2 separate regions of the Homo sapiens genome follow, and region 2 is linked to region 1. The links are contacts of gene promoters, found by promoter capture Hi-C in blood cells and fetal thymus (Javierre and others, 2016). All regions are on one chromosome and are shown on one strand. Each heading gives the region's core, a stretch centred on a gene start or on the middle of the fragment in contact. The rest is flanking DNA. Distances are from core to core; before and after follow the strand shown.

Region 1 (7,484 bases), core at 1,318-3,817:
TGATCTGAGAATTACTACAGTTTCTTTGTTCTTTCTTAGTTTCTATCTCTTAGTGTACTGCTTAAGGGAAGCCACACTTCACTGAGAGGCAGAAATAAATATTGCTACTATCACTTACAAACTAGAGGAATATGAGTAAGCCATTTGGCTGCGCTAATCCTCAAGAGGCTCATCTATAACACCGAGTGTGTTAACTGCTGGTGGAAGAGGGAAGGCTGAGTTAGGTGTGGGGATTTTTGGATTTGTTTGCTTGTTTGTTTTTGGTTCGGTTTGGTTTTGTCATTAGCTCTAAGATCTATGTTTTTATGAACATATAGTCAAAATCTAAGAGAAAAGTATTGTCGACAAGGTAAAACTTGGATTTATTTTGCAGATTTCCTGAAAGCAAGTAATGTAACTAAATCCAGTAGTCAGCTTGGTTTATATCTCCAGGATTATTCCTAATCACCCATAAAGATTAGCTTCTGGCTGGGCGTGGTAGTTCACACCTGTAATCCCAGCACTTTTGGAGGCTGAGGCAGGTGGATCACCTGAAGTCAGGAGTTCAAGACCAGCCTGGCCAACACGGTGAAACCCTGTCTCTACTAAAAATACAAAATTAGCTGGGCTTAGTGGCAGGCATCTGAAATCCCAGCTACTCGGGAGGCTGAGGCAGAATGGCTTGAACCCGGGAGGCAGAGGTTGCAGTGAGCCAAGATTGCACCATTGCACTCCAGCCTGGGTGACAAGAGCGATGCTCTATCTCAAAAAAAAAAAGAATAGCTTCTAATTTTCTACACATATACTCACACACAAACATAAACATAAACATTCCTATCTGTTTAGAGTTATGAGTTTAACCAGTAACTTAAAAGACAGAGAGAGAGAGAGAGAGAGAGAGAGAGAGAGAGAGAGAGAGAGAGAGAGGCCAGGTGCCGTGGATCATGCCTGTAATCCCAGCACTTTGGGAGACTGAGGTGGGCAGATCACAAGGTCAGGAGTTTGAGACCAGCCTGGCCAGCATGGTGAAACCCCATCTCTACTAAAAATACAAAAATCAGCCAGGTGTGGTGGTGGGCACCTGTAATCCCACCTACTGAGGAGGCTGAGGCAAGAGAATTGCTTGAACCCAGGAGGTGGAGGTTGCAGTGAGCTGAGATCGTGCCATTGCACTCTAGCCTGGGCGAAAAGAGCAAGACTCCGTCTCAAAAAAAACAAAAAACAAACACCAAAAACAAACAAAACAAAAAAAAAAGAGAGAGAGAACTTGCTTGAAATACCATGAAAGTGTGCCCTTCTTATCAGTTTTCCTTCAATGTTGAAGAAGAAGCCAACTGTTTCCTAAAAATCTCATTATCAGAACCAAATTTATGGTTATTTCACTTCTATTAATTTGATTAAATTAAAATTACCATCTTAAGATGCATAATTATATATACTAGGTGTTTTAAGACCTTCATCAATAAGTTTGGAGTTGTCATCCTACCACTTTCTTGAAACAGGTCTTCTAACTGTTTTCCTTCTGGATTTCTGGTTGAAATTTTGCTAGTGAAGTTTTCTCTCTCCCATTCAGTACTCACCCACCCCTCCTCACCCCCAATCATTAACAAGAAATCTGGGTTTAAGTGTATTTCTGCTACCATTGACTCACTGAAAGAATTTTTCAGGTGATATCCACACGTTTCTCCAATAAAAAGTTATTATTTTTTCCCTTTGTAGTAATTTGTGGAGAGATCTTCTGATGAAGGACCAAAATTCTGTGTCAAATTTTTACCCTCTAGTTTTAGCATTCATTTATGATTTTCTATGGATACTAGCTGGCATTCTATTTTAAGAAAAGCCTTTCTTCTTTCCTCATTTATTTATATTAATATAGATTGTTGAGTTTTATTTTAATCAATGGGTTATCCATTATGATGATTTATATTGATGGTAAAATTATCCCAGCTTCAGCCACTGGGAGACCCTTCAAGCTGGCAGCTGTGGACCTTTGACCAGTTCCTATCATTTTTTGAGCACTTCCGCATCTCTGGCACAACAGGTTCATCTTGTACTTTACAGCCCCAGCCCTGGTATCAGCCTTTTCTCCAGAGGTTGTGTCAAAAAGCCGTGGTTCCTCTTATTGGAGCATAGGATTTAGAAACCAAGACTTGGGTGCTAGATGTACTACTGGCCTTTCATTGCTTGAGCCAGAAGAATTTAATATCTTCTTTTGCCATATATCAGCTAGAACTTACAAACCACTCCAAGTCTGGCTCCAGAAAACAGAATTTTTATATCCTTTCTCAGTACTCTGAGTCAGAATGACCCACTTGCTTTGTCCAGAGACTCGTCACACTGAAACTATTTTCCGTTTGAGACCTTCCAGGAGGAAAGCCATCCTCACACGCATGCAGTACAAACCAGTGTCCTCCAGAGTCCGCTGTGCCTACGGCCAGAGCAGCGACAGAGCCTTCCTCAAACCTGTAGTGACTGCCACACTTTGCAAGGACACCGTAGAGGGGGCATGTCCGCGCTCCAACTTCCTCCCGACGCAGCCTCTGATTGGCTCCTGGGCTTATAAGAAACGCGTGAATGAGCAGCTGCCGCGGGCAGAAAGTTGCCGGAGGTCTCCGGGTGGTATCGCCCTTTCCTCTTTGCCAGCCCGCTGGCGAGCCGAGCCAGGGCAAGATGAGGTCGTCCTGTGTCCTGCTCACCGCCCTGGTGGCGCTGGCCGCCTATTACGTCTACATCCCGCTGCCTGGCTCCGTGTCCGACCCCTGGAAGCTGATGCTGCTGGACGCCACTTTCCGGGGTGCACAGCAAGTGGTGAGGTGCAGCCCAGCGCTGCTTCTCTCTTCCTCCTCTTACGCAATATTTGAAGGGGATACAAAATTCCTCCGCCGGGTTCCACGAAAACGCAGGTTTTTCCTAATGCATTGAGGCTGTCGCTTTTTGAGGTGGTCCAGTCGGGAATTTTCAGGGTATCGCATTCGCCTCCTTGCTAGCAGCGGGCTAGATCTGCATTTCCCCGTCTGCGTTTGTGACGGGGAAGAAGTGCTTGAATAGAATTTGACAACTGTTTAAACCTTCGTCTGTCCTAAATATCTTCCTCTTCCTTGGTTTGCAACGTCAAAAGGCAAATCCTTAAGCAGTTTATAAACCACCCTTCTTCACACTGTCGTTCTCCCATAGGGACCGGCAGAGGATAAATATTTTTAGGAGAGCTCGGGAAAAGCAGGCTCTGGTTCCTGGGAATGCAGCCACCTTAGAAGCAGAAGCAGGCAAGGGCAGTCTCGCAATGTCCCCAGGCTGTGGAGCGCTCCGTTCCCGGAGACAGCAGGCAGGGCTCTCCATCCAAGCACTTGAGGAACCATAGGGATCTCTCGTTTCACCCGAGGCAGATCTCAGCTCAGCCCAAGAAAGAGGACTGGGAGGCTGGGCTGGCTGAAAGGAGGTGAGGAGGCGGCAGCCCTGGTTTGCATGATGCATGTTTTCTGCTTGCCCTGCAGCATTTATTTTATGTCCTTGGCTGTCAGATAACCTTTTCCTGAGCGAGGTTACCTGCCTTAACCTGGGAGGGTAACATTTCTCTCCACTGTATCATGGGCGTGTGTTCATTCCTTCCATACACAGGAAAATATAACTGTCTCTGGTTTATTCCATGGTAAGAGGCATTATTTTTAGTGTCAGAGAATCTAAAATCTAAACTACAGTCTGCAGCCAAGGCTGAGCCCTCTGATTGGACAGTATTTCTGAGCAGCCTGCTCTATCTAAACTCTAACCTTCTCCAAAACCAAGCCTCCTCCCTCCCCACAACCTTGGGCTTTAATCTCAGAATATTTTTATAAACTCTTTCTTTCAGAAATGACAACTAGAGAAAGAGAAAAAAAATCATTTCAACCTGAGAAAGCTGATTTTAAAAAAGTCATGATTTTCCCAGAGGGTTTATGTTCCTGTTCCCTGTCCACTCATTATGTGTAGGATTACATAATCTGTGGGGCTTTATCCTATGAAAAGTCCCCTTACTAGGATATTGCAGCACATTCCTAGCGTGGATTTGCTTTTCCTGAATTCAGCCACATTCTCACCTCCAAAGCCCCTTTTGTCTCTTAGGAAAGGTCTATGAAGCTATAGACCCCTGCCCCCCTTCTTTTCCTCTTGCTTCCTATAATGTTGACATGGTGAAAATGATCATCCCCTTCTTTAGCACTGGTGTCAAGAAAGTCAGTCTTGTTGTAGGAAGCCTTGCATTCCCTCTCCTCCCCCATGAAATTATGTAATTTGAAAGTAATACCCTTCAAAGATTGAGGAACAGTGATGTTTACCTGGGTGGGTTAATGGTCTACTACAATAACTTAAACAGAGGAAAACAGGAAAAAGATCAAACTGCTGTGTTGGCTGCAGAGATTATTCTTAGTTTTCAGGTCACCAAAGAAGTCTTCTCCATCATAAGTTAATCTCGGACAAGCTAGGTTTGGAGAAAAGCTTTTCTTTCCCAGCTAGGCTTGCCAGCCCATTAAGGACAAGGCTGTGTAAGGTCCTCCACAGAGTATACCCTCAGGTGGTGCTTGGGAATGATAGTGGGTGTAACCTGAAGTCAGCAATAGATGAGGTAACCAGTGTTCTCACCTGACACTGTGGCTCAGGAGTGGATTTGCAGAAAAATGGCTCTTATCACTTCTCCTCTAAATTGTGAAATATCAGAAAGATCATTATGATCAGATGGAAACATATTCTACCCAATAAAGCAATTTTCCAGTGTCACCTCAAATCTTCCTGAGTTTTCCCTGTAAAATAGGGCAAAAAACTACCTTGTAGGTTTGCTATAAGGTTTAGTAATGTATTTAAGTGCCTGGTACTTGTAGTGAGTCTTCTAGTTGTCCCCAAGGGTCCATTGTGGATTGTGGGAACATCTATAAGAATGCTTACCTTTTTTGAAGCAATAAAATAAATGTAAACTGGAAGTAATTTATGTGATTGAAACCTGGAGTGCTACTACTAAATTACCTGGTGTCATGGCCTGGGGCGGTGGCTCACGCTGTAATCCCAGCACTTTGGGAGGCCGAGGCGGGTGGATCACGAGGTCAGGAGTTCGAGACCAGCAGCCTGGCCAACATAGTGAAACCTCTTTCTACTAAAAATACAAAAAATTAGCCAGGGCTGGTGGCAGGTGCCTGTAGTCCCAGCTACTTGGGAGGCTGAGGCAGGAGAATCGCTTGAACCTGGGAGGCGGAGGTTGCGTTGAGTCGAGATTGTGCCACTGCACTCCAGCCTGGGCAACAAGAGTGAAACTCTGTCTCAAAAAAATATATAAATAAATAAATTGCATGGTGTCAACCTCGTTACTCAGATAATTTTAGTTTGAGTTGATTGGCTCAACTACAAAAGCAATTTAAGCTGTTTGAGAGATTAAGCTCAGCCTATTTCCTAAGACAGCATCAGCTGCCTACCATTAAGAAATGTGAATGTTAGTTTATTCTGTTGTCATTGGCAAATACTTTATGCTTTAGCATTTTTTATGTCCTTTATCTTGTGCAGTGAGTCAGACTATTGAGATTATGTTCATTGTGCTTTTTTTCCTTGGGGTTCCCCATATTCCTTAAGAAGCAGCTACTTAGGATCTCTCTGACTCCTCTCAAACACAGATGCTATGTCAGAATCACCTAAGAACTGTTTAAAACAAACCAAACCAAAACAAAACACTTGATGCCCAGGTTACACCACATACCAAACTTACTTAGAATCTCTGGGAGATGAACGTTCTTAGCAGTGTTTAAGAAAAGTTCCAGCCGGGCGCGGTGGCTCACGCCTGTAATCCCAGCACTTTGGGAGGCCGAGGCGGGCGGATCACGAGGTCAGGAGATCAAGACCATCCTGGCTAATACGGTGAAACCTCGTCTCTACTAAAAATACAAAAAAATTAGCTGGGCGTGGTGGCAGGCTCCTGTAGTCCCGGCTACTCGGGAGGCTGAGGCAGGAGAATGGCGTGAACCCGGGAGGTGGAGCTTGCAGTGGGCCGAGATCAGGCCACTGCACTCCAGCCTGGGCAACAGTGTGAGACTCCGTCTCAAAAAAATAATAATAATAAAAATAAAAAACGAAAAGTTCCCCAGATGATCTTCATTGCAGCAAAACTTGAGAACCACTGCTCTATAAGATAAAAGGCATTGCTGTTGTAGACAATATATTTTCCTTAAACTGCGTGTTATATTGCATACGTGTTGCTGGAAATGAGCCCTTTTACATTAGCATGGATTAGTTTATCAGATTAGTTGACACTTTGGCCCTAAGGGGATAAAATACTAGCTAGGCAAATTTCTGTGTTATAGCAAAGCCACCATAAGACTTGAGCAGTGGAAAAGCACAAACAAAAGTAGGTCTGAGAAGGGCAGAGGTGTAATTTAGATGATCAGGCAGCAGGAGACTAGAGGAACAAAAGAAGAGAGTTTGGGGAAGTCCTGAAGGCTGATTTCCAAATGCTATGCAGACAAAGATTTTTTTTTTTAAATGGTAATCTCAGTGCAGGTTAAAATACTAAGTGTACACTGCTGGAGAAAATGTATGTTAGAACCACGTTTTTGGAGAACAGTTTGGCAATATCCATCAAAGCCTTATAAGTGTGTTTATTTTTTGACCCCGTAATCCCTCTAGATGGAATTTATGGTAAGTAATGATGGATATAGGCAAACCTCTAGCTATAAAGATGGAAACATTTTACAGGATTAAAAAACTTGTTCATCAGCACCGTAAGACAAAGAAAAAAAACAAAAACTTGTTGAACTTGTCTAAAAGCACTGCCACTTATAATAAACGTGAAGTAAAATCGAGCAATCTTTTTTTCTTTTATTTGCAGCACCATTTAAACGAATGAAGGTCGGGTGTGGTGGCTCATGCCTGTAATCCTAGCACTGTGGGAGGTCGAGGCGGGCGGGTTACCTGAGGTCAGGAGTTCAAGACCAGCCTGGCCAACATGGTGAAACCCCGTCTCTACTAAAAAATACAAAAAATTAGCCGGGTGCAGTGGTGCGCGCCTGTAATTCCAGCTACTTGGGAGGCTGAGGCAGAAGAATCGCTTGAACCAGGGAGGTGGAGGTTTCAGTGAGCCGAGATGGTGCCACTGCACTCTAGCCTGGGCTACAGTGAGACTTCGTCTCAAAAAAAAAAAAAAAAAAAGAAAAATGTAAGAACAGTAAAAGATTAAATAATGGTAAATTCATATTTGGGAATACTAGGCAGTTAAAAAAATTTAGGTTGTAAAATGTTTAATGACTTGCAAAAGATTTGTACCATGTGTTAAGCAGGAAAAGGCTACAAAATAGATCATACACTATTTATATATCAAAACATGTATCTATGTTTGTATAGAAAAAGCAGAAAGATATAATTTAAAACATGATTTTTTTCTTCTGGGCCATAAAGTTGTATCTTCAGTTTTCGTATTGGTGTATTCTAGATTTTCTACAATGAACATGTAGTAATAAATTATTTTAAAGCTTTTTTTAATCCAGGCATGGTAGCTCATG
Region 2 (7,484 bases), core at 2,203-4,702, 1.1 Mb after region 1:
TTTTGGTATCTAAGGAATATAGATAGTGATATCTAAGAAATCACTGCCTGATCTAGGATCATGAAGATTTATGCCTGTTTTCTCCTGGGAATTTTATAGTGTTAGCTCCTACATTTAGATATTTGACTCATTTTGTTACTTTTTATATATGGGGTGAGTTAGGGGCCCAACTTTTTATTCTTTTGTTGATGGATATAGAGTTGCCCTAGCACCATTTGTTAAAAAGACTATTCTTTCCACATTGAATTGTCTTGGCACCAGGGACAATTTCTTCTTATGGCTGATTTCAGCTCCATTTAAAAGTAGCAGAACAAACACATAAGCAAAACCATTATATTTCATTACTTTAAGTCATTGAATGCACGCAGTGAAGAATAAGTGCATATGCATTTGGGAATTAAAACACTTTTTACTTCCAGTGTCATGTGGTACTTTGATATCTTTTTTCACATAATATTTGGGGACTTTTATACTTAAGGACATATTATAACAGTAACTATCAGCATTTTATGTGATTCACAGTTTATAACTACATTATCTCACTGAATCTTCACAACTACACTTGAGAGTAGGTCATGTATTTGTTGTTGTTATTGTTGTTATTATTGCTGTTGTTGCTGTTCCCATTTTTAGGATTAAAAACTGAGATTCAAGAGGTTATGTGACTTGTCTAGGCCACTAACCACAATAGGCAAAAAACAGCTTTGAGCCTAAATCTTTGGACTTTCAACCCAATGCTTCCCCTCACACCACATGACTCTAGTGCATTGATGGTTAGGATTAAAAACCCATTCAGGGCTTCCCCAAGCTGAGGCAAATGTGTTGGGCCTGTAGTTCCCTTCCCCTATTGACCAGCCATTGGATGCAGGCTGACCCTAGGGAGTGGGGATGACCTTGAGTGAGGCAAGTCCCTTTCACCTATGGAGGACTCCATACTTTTCATACCTGGAGGACTTCACTGTGAGTATTCCGTGGCCTACATGCTCAGTAGCTGATGGGATGGATGTCTTGATCCCATGGTGAGGGGATCTAGGCAGCACACTACAGCATCCATCATATCCTGCAGTGTGTACAGTGGATCTCACCTGTGACTACACATCAAAATCACCACTGACTTTTGCAAGATTACAGAGAGCTTGACTCACCTCCAGGCTTACTGGATCATAATTTCCTGGATCGGGGCCTGGCCCCGGTATTTTATACTGTTCCAAAGATGTGTTTTTAAGTGTTTGGAAGCCTGAAAGAATATTTTTCTTTACTGTAGTAATTTGTCTTTAAAAATCTGGACTTCTAAAATAATAAAATTAGGCTGGGCATGGTGGCTCACGCCTGTAATCCCAGCACTTTGGGAGGCTGAGGCGGGTGGATCACCTGAGGTCAGGAGTTTGAGACCAGTCTGACCAGTGTGGTGAAACTCTGTCTCTACTAATAGTACAAAAATTAGCTGGGCTTGGTGGTGCATGACTGTAGTCCCAGCTGTTCAGGTGGCTGCGGTAGGAGAACTGCTTGAACCCAGGAGGTGGAGATTGCAGTGAGCTGAGATCATGCCATTGCACTCCAGCCTGGGTGACAGACCAAGACTCTGTCTCAAAATAAATAAATAAATAAATAAATAAATAAAATTATAGTATTTTAGGGCTACAAGAAACTTCAAGATATTTTCTGATAGAACATTTCCTAGTGATCTTATGAGCTGCTCCTGAAAGGAAAAGGGATCTGTGACTTTAAAAATTATGGTAAAGTAGCACCTGTTGCAGATTGTATCTTACACTTGGAGTTTGACAGAGCACATTAAAGACTGGCAATTTCAAGTTTGCTTTGTGAAAAATGGGAAATTAGTTCATCAAATTTCAAATAAACCTGTGTCATTTAGCTCTGATCTCTCAATAGTCTCATTTTTTTGACAGACACATTTTCAAAATGGTACATATGTCACACATTTAGACTTTCAGTGGATACACACACACATTCTCAAAACATATTTTATGTTCCCCTCACCCCTGGCGTCTCTGCATTCTTGTTAATCTCCCTATGTTAATTGCAACTGTAAAATATATTTTCACTTAATTTCAAATCTGTGAGCTTGTGTTCTGTGAGCTTGTGTTAGGCAAGGTAAAGGCAGAATTAAAAAGCTTATCTTGGGCAGGTGTGGTGGCTCACACCTGTAATCCCAGCACTTTGGGAGGCGGAGGCGGGAGGATTTCTAAAGGCTAGAAATTTGAGACCACCTGTCTTTACAAAAAAATAAAAAATTATCCAGATGTTTTGGTGTGCCTGTAGTTCTAGCTACTTGGAGGCTGAGGCAAGAGGATTCCTTAAGCCTGAGAGTATGAGGCTGCAGTGAACTATAATCTCACCACTACACTCCAGCTTAGGAGATAGAATGAGGCCTCATCTCTAAAAAAATAAATAAATAAAAAATGAAAGAAACAACATATTTTGCAGGTTGCCACCCTGGGGTGACCCCTTTTCACTAATTAGGTGCCATGATGTGCCATCCCAAACTTACCCCTCTCTCTCCATAGACTTCTCTGGTCTCTACTTTTCTGAGACTCAGAACTTCCCTGCCAAAGTCACATTCTTAGCAACAAGTATAATTTTGGCTATTTGAAAAAGAATAGAATGCAGCCCAAAGCAGATGGAGGGAAATGACAGTCCGCAGTCAGCCAGGCCTCACCAAAGAATACAGGCCCTCTGCCAGGTCCCTCCTACCCTGGAGAAATCTGAGTCTTCAAATTGCCAACTCCCTGGACTGGTCTAAGTATTTTTCTGCCAGCGTTGGAATCCAGCCTCACAACAATTCCCCTAAGCAATTTCTCAGTTCCTCTCACTTCCTCTGGTTCCTTCTCAACAGCCATAATTCTTTATAGAAATAAGTTTTGCAAAGCCTTCATGTTCTGACATGACCTAGAGCCTCAGACTCATGTTTACCCCATGCTGACCTCAGAACAGCCGGGGGAATCAGAATAAAAAAAAAACAAAAAACAAATCTTCACTCTAATAAGTAAAACTGTCTCAGAGTTGAAGCCAGCTGCCCAACCCACTTGAAACCTTTCTTTGACAGCTCAAATGTGATTGGCGATCAGAGAGAAAAAAAATCATAATCCACAGTCTAAAATTTACTGTTTTATGCCATGTTTGACTAAGCCAAAAGATAGGACCAACTGATCCAGGTAGACACATTTTTAAACACTGTGTGCCATGAATGAATGGTTTCTGAGGAGATTCTCAGATCTTTGCACATGGAAACTTGACATGCATAATTTTTCTGCTTTGGTAGAAAGTCAGGAAGTGAGAAAGTGCATTTTATAGTGTTAGCAACAAACAGTTGACACACACAATGAAAATAGTCAGTTGACTTAATGCTTCTATGTTTTAATATTAAACTGCATTAAAAATATGCTATTAAACTACATTAAAACAACAATTTTGAACATTGTTCAAACTTACCATGTTCTTTTTTTTTTTTTTTTTTTTGAGACAGTCTTGCTCTGTCACCCAAGCTGAAGTGCAGTGGTGTGATCTTGGCTTACTGCAACCTCCATCTCCCGGGTTCAAGCAATTCTCCTGCCTCAGCCTCCCGAGTATCTGGGATTACAGGCACCCGCCACCACACTCAGCTAATTTTTTTGTATTTTTGGTGGAGACGGGGTTTCACCATGTCGGCCAGGCTAGCTTTGAACTCCTAACCTCAAGTGATCCGCCCACCTCGGCCTCCCAAAGTGCCCCTCATGCTTCTTATAACTGTAGAAGAGCTACTGCTTGCCTGTAAGTGGGTGGTATGGGAAATACCACACTGGGAAATCTGAAATTATTGGGGGACCAGATGTCTGGAGACCTGGATTCTCTCCAGCTCTGTTATCCACAGGTATGTGACCTTCTGAGTACGTCAGTTTGTCCTTCTGACACGCTGTTTCTTCACCAACCACGAATAATATTATCTGTTCTACGTAGCTTATATGAATATATGTGAAAGTAGTTTGTAAGCTGTAAAGCACCAGTTCATGTAAGAACTTATTATAGCATTTCCATGATATTCATCATCTGGAAATATGTTGTTCACTGTAAATTGAAGCAAGGATAAAGAGGCATCATATTCAAATCAGCTGTTTCAAAATTAGTATTTATGCTAGAAAAAGAAATGTTTTAATTTAAAAGATGCTTAAATGTTCCGTATTTTAAATTATTGGACGGCTACTTCTGGATAAGAAAAATTTGTTTTGGTTTCTCACGACTGGCTGTTGTTCATCATGTGACTTGTTTAGGCACACGATTACAACACTCTGTCTAGAGGTTTGCTGCCAGAAACCTATAGCTGACTCTTCCTGGGAATCAATTTTTGATTTCCCTGTTATTGATCTGATAACACTCTCCCCAAAATATAAAGTAAAACAAAATGTATTCTGAAGCATAATATGTGTTTAGTTTAGTATTGTTTTAATTTTAGATGCTATTTACTTTGTTGTTATTTGAAGATATGCAAGCCTTCTAATTGAAATCAGCAATTGATATAATTGAATAAAAATGTTACCAAATAGTTTCTGAGTCTTTCCACATAATCAGTGCTATACCTGTGTTACCTCATTCAGTCTTTGTATCAACTTTATGGGATTGGTTGTGTAATTACTCCCATTCTACAGATGAGGCAGCTGAGGCCTAGTGAAATTAGATAACTTAGCCAAGTCATACAGCTATGGTTGGATAGGAGTAGGACTCAAACCATGTCTGTAGGACCTCAACTTGTGCTTTTTACCAGTAAGCTACAAAGCTTCCCCCATTTCAAGGGATGTAGAAATTTTCGAATGGTAAGCCTCCCAGAAATCTATGAAAAATACTTTATTTTGAAATATAAAAAATTGAATGAGCTGGGCACTGTGGCTTATGCCTTTGATTCTAGCACTTTGGGAGGCCGAGGCAGGAAGATCACTTGAGTTCAGGAGTTCAAGACCAGTCTGTGCAACATAGTGAGACCTAGTCTCTACAAAAAAAAAAAAAAAAAAAAAAAAAAAAATAGCTGAGTGTGCTGGTACATGCCTGTGGTCCCAGCCATCCGGGAAGCTGAGGTGGGAGGATCTCTTAGCCTGGGAGGTGAAGGCTGCAGTGCGCCATGATTGCACCACTGCACTCCAGCCTGGGTAACAGAGCAAGACCCTGTCACAAAAAGAAAAAAAAAATCAGATGAATGTTTTATTTTTTAAAAGCAATGTTTGATAGATTAAAAGTTCTTGGGTTTAAAGAAAAATCTATGTCCATAATTACCATATCCTATAATTTTGTACCAAACTGAAAAGACATGTTGGGCTTGTTTCAGAAGCCTTGTCTTAAAGAAAATTCAACTGCAGTACCTTTTTTTTTTTTTTTTTTTGAGAAGGAGTCTCACTCTGTCGCCGAGGCTGGAGTGCAGTGGCGCGATCTTGGCTCACTGCAAACTCCACCTCCTGGGTTCACGCCATTCTCCTGCCTCAGCCTCCCGAGTAGCTGGGACTACAGGTGCCTGCCACCACGCCTGGCTATTTTTTTGTATTTTTAGTAGAGACGGGGTTTCACTGTGTTATCCAGGATGGTCTCGATCTGCTGACCTCGTGGTCCGCCCGCCTTGGCCTGCCAAAGTGCTGGGATTACAGGCATGAGCCACCGCGCCTGGCCAAAACACATTTTATCTAAGTATGCCAATCATTGGTTTCACATTTTTTCTTGTGGGATAACTCCCAAGCTCTGTACGATTTCTGGAGAAGAGGTTACCTTGGGACACAGATGACAACAGATCGTGGCAGGAGACCTTTTGATTTAGGTCATGTAAATGCTTTTATTCTATTCTAAAAATTGTATAAAATGGTAACCTCAGCAGATAGAGAAATGTAAAGATTAGCACAGGGCAGGGGCCAGCACTCATTTTGAGCCTGAGCATGTGCCCTGGAAAAGAGAGGAAGGAAGAAGGAGACTTAAAAATGACAATGAAAACCGTCTGGGCCATAGTGGGAACAGTTTAGTATAAGGTTCTATATAACCTCATTTGGGGGCCACTCAGGGCTAGGCTTGCCAAAGACTATCAAGCCCAGGGTGAAGTCTAAGTCAAACATGCTGGGGAATCCCTCAGCATTCTTATGTTTGAAAGCTTGCCATTTTCAAAAGATAACCAATGAGAAAACTGATGTGTGTTTGTGCACAATATATAATAGTTCATAATCTATGAAGTCACATAGAGGATAGGTAAAGTCAGTGCTAAATAGGGCCAGCATTTCTAGTGGACTAGTCATGATTTTAGCCAGTTCTTTCATGTGCAGATGAGGAAACTGAAGCCCAGAAGGATCTTCTCCTTTTAAAGGATTTGCCAAGCACAAAATAAAAGGGGTTATGTCCCAAACGACCAAGAAGCTACAGATCCAATTCCAACATAATTGATACCACCATAGTATAAAATTCTCTTTACACACACACACACACACACACACACCCTAAGCCCTAACCACAATTCTTCCTATTTCTGACAGTATTCACTGCTGCAAAATCTACAACGAGACGATTTATAGCAGCTCTTGAAGTTTACAGTAATGAAATACAAACTATAAATCTCAAATTCTCAAAAAAATAAAGTGTCTTGTCACTAGCGAAGCATATCAAGCTTCCTCGGGGCCTTCTTGCCAGACCCTGAGACCCAGTTGTGAGCAGATCAAGCTTCTCCTAACTGTCCTTCATGCTGAGGAGGGACTGTGGGTGAAGGAGGAGGGGCTTATGCAGCAGAGAAAAACAAGAAAAGGAAAGTAGAGGTACATCACTGCTGTGACCCATCTACATGGTACATTCGTACTCTGCTTTTAAAGGTACAAACAGCTTTATAGCAATCACAAAAATTTTAAAATTAATTTTTTTTTTTTTGAGACGGATTCTCGCTCTGTCGCCCGGGCTGCTGGAGTGCAGTGCCGCGATTTTGGCTCACTGCCAAGCTCCGCCTCCCGGGTTCACGCCATTCTCCTGCCTCAGCCTCCCGAGTAGCTGGGACTACAGGCGCCCGCCACCACGCCTGGCTAATACACACACACTACTATTTTCTGTTGAATTGTAATTTATTTTCTTTTCCTAGAGTTCATCTGAATTTCTAGCTCAAGCGCATTTCCACACAATAGGAGGGGTTTTAGTTTTAGTTTTGGCACTTCCTGATAAATGTGGCCAAATTCAGTGATTTCTCATTATTTCCCTTCTATATTCAGCATCAGGGTTCTACTCCTGCCTCCTCTCCCTCCACATCCCGTCCTTGATCTTAATGCTATGGGGCCCTGGATCTTTGGAAAGGGGCTTCCAGACACTGATGTTGATCTCCCTCCGGCCTGTTCTGGCATCTGCTTAACGTAGCTTGGGGACGTCAGCCTTCACCTTTCAGGCCTGCCTCTCTACCACTTCTCCTCTGCTCCTGCCACATCGCATAGCTGCTGAACGACATGCTCCACATTTCTCTGGAGTTCACCTGAAAGCAAGGCACAGATCCT

What was found. Contacts are between HindIII fragments. The CHiCAGO score rates a contact against its expected background, and 5 or more counts as called.
Region 2: a fragment that was not itself captured here is called in contact with the fragment with the promoter of NCEH1 in region 1 in 1 of 17 cell types (neutrophils); the score reaches 6.3 in neutrophils.

Annotation. Positions count from the first base shown.
Region 1 is chr3:172,706,150-172,713,633 of GRCh38, reverse strand. NCEH1 (neutral cholesterol ester hydrolase 1) reads left to right here and starts at 2,567. Exons shown (of 5, transcript NM_020792.6): 1 at 2,567-2,787. The coding sequence starts at 2,650. RefSeq lists enhancers at 2,117-2,256, 2,301-2,595, 2,517-2,786, 1,916-3,115. The HindIII fragment of the contact is 17,687 bases long and covers 1-4,448 here.
Region 2 is chr3:171,650,294-171,657,777 of GRCh38, reverse strand. All of the region lies in intron 21 of PLD1 (phospholipase D1), which reads left to right. Among named protein-coding and RNA genes, the nearest start is that of PLD1, 160 kb to the left of the region's middle. The HindIII fragment of the contact is 2,636 bases long and covers 2,135-4,770 here.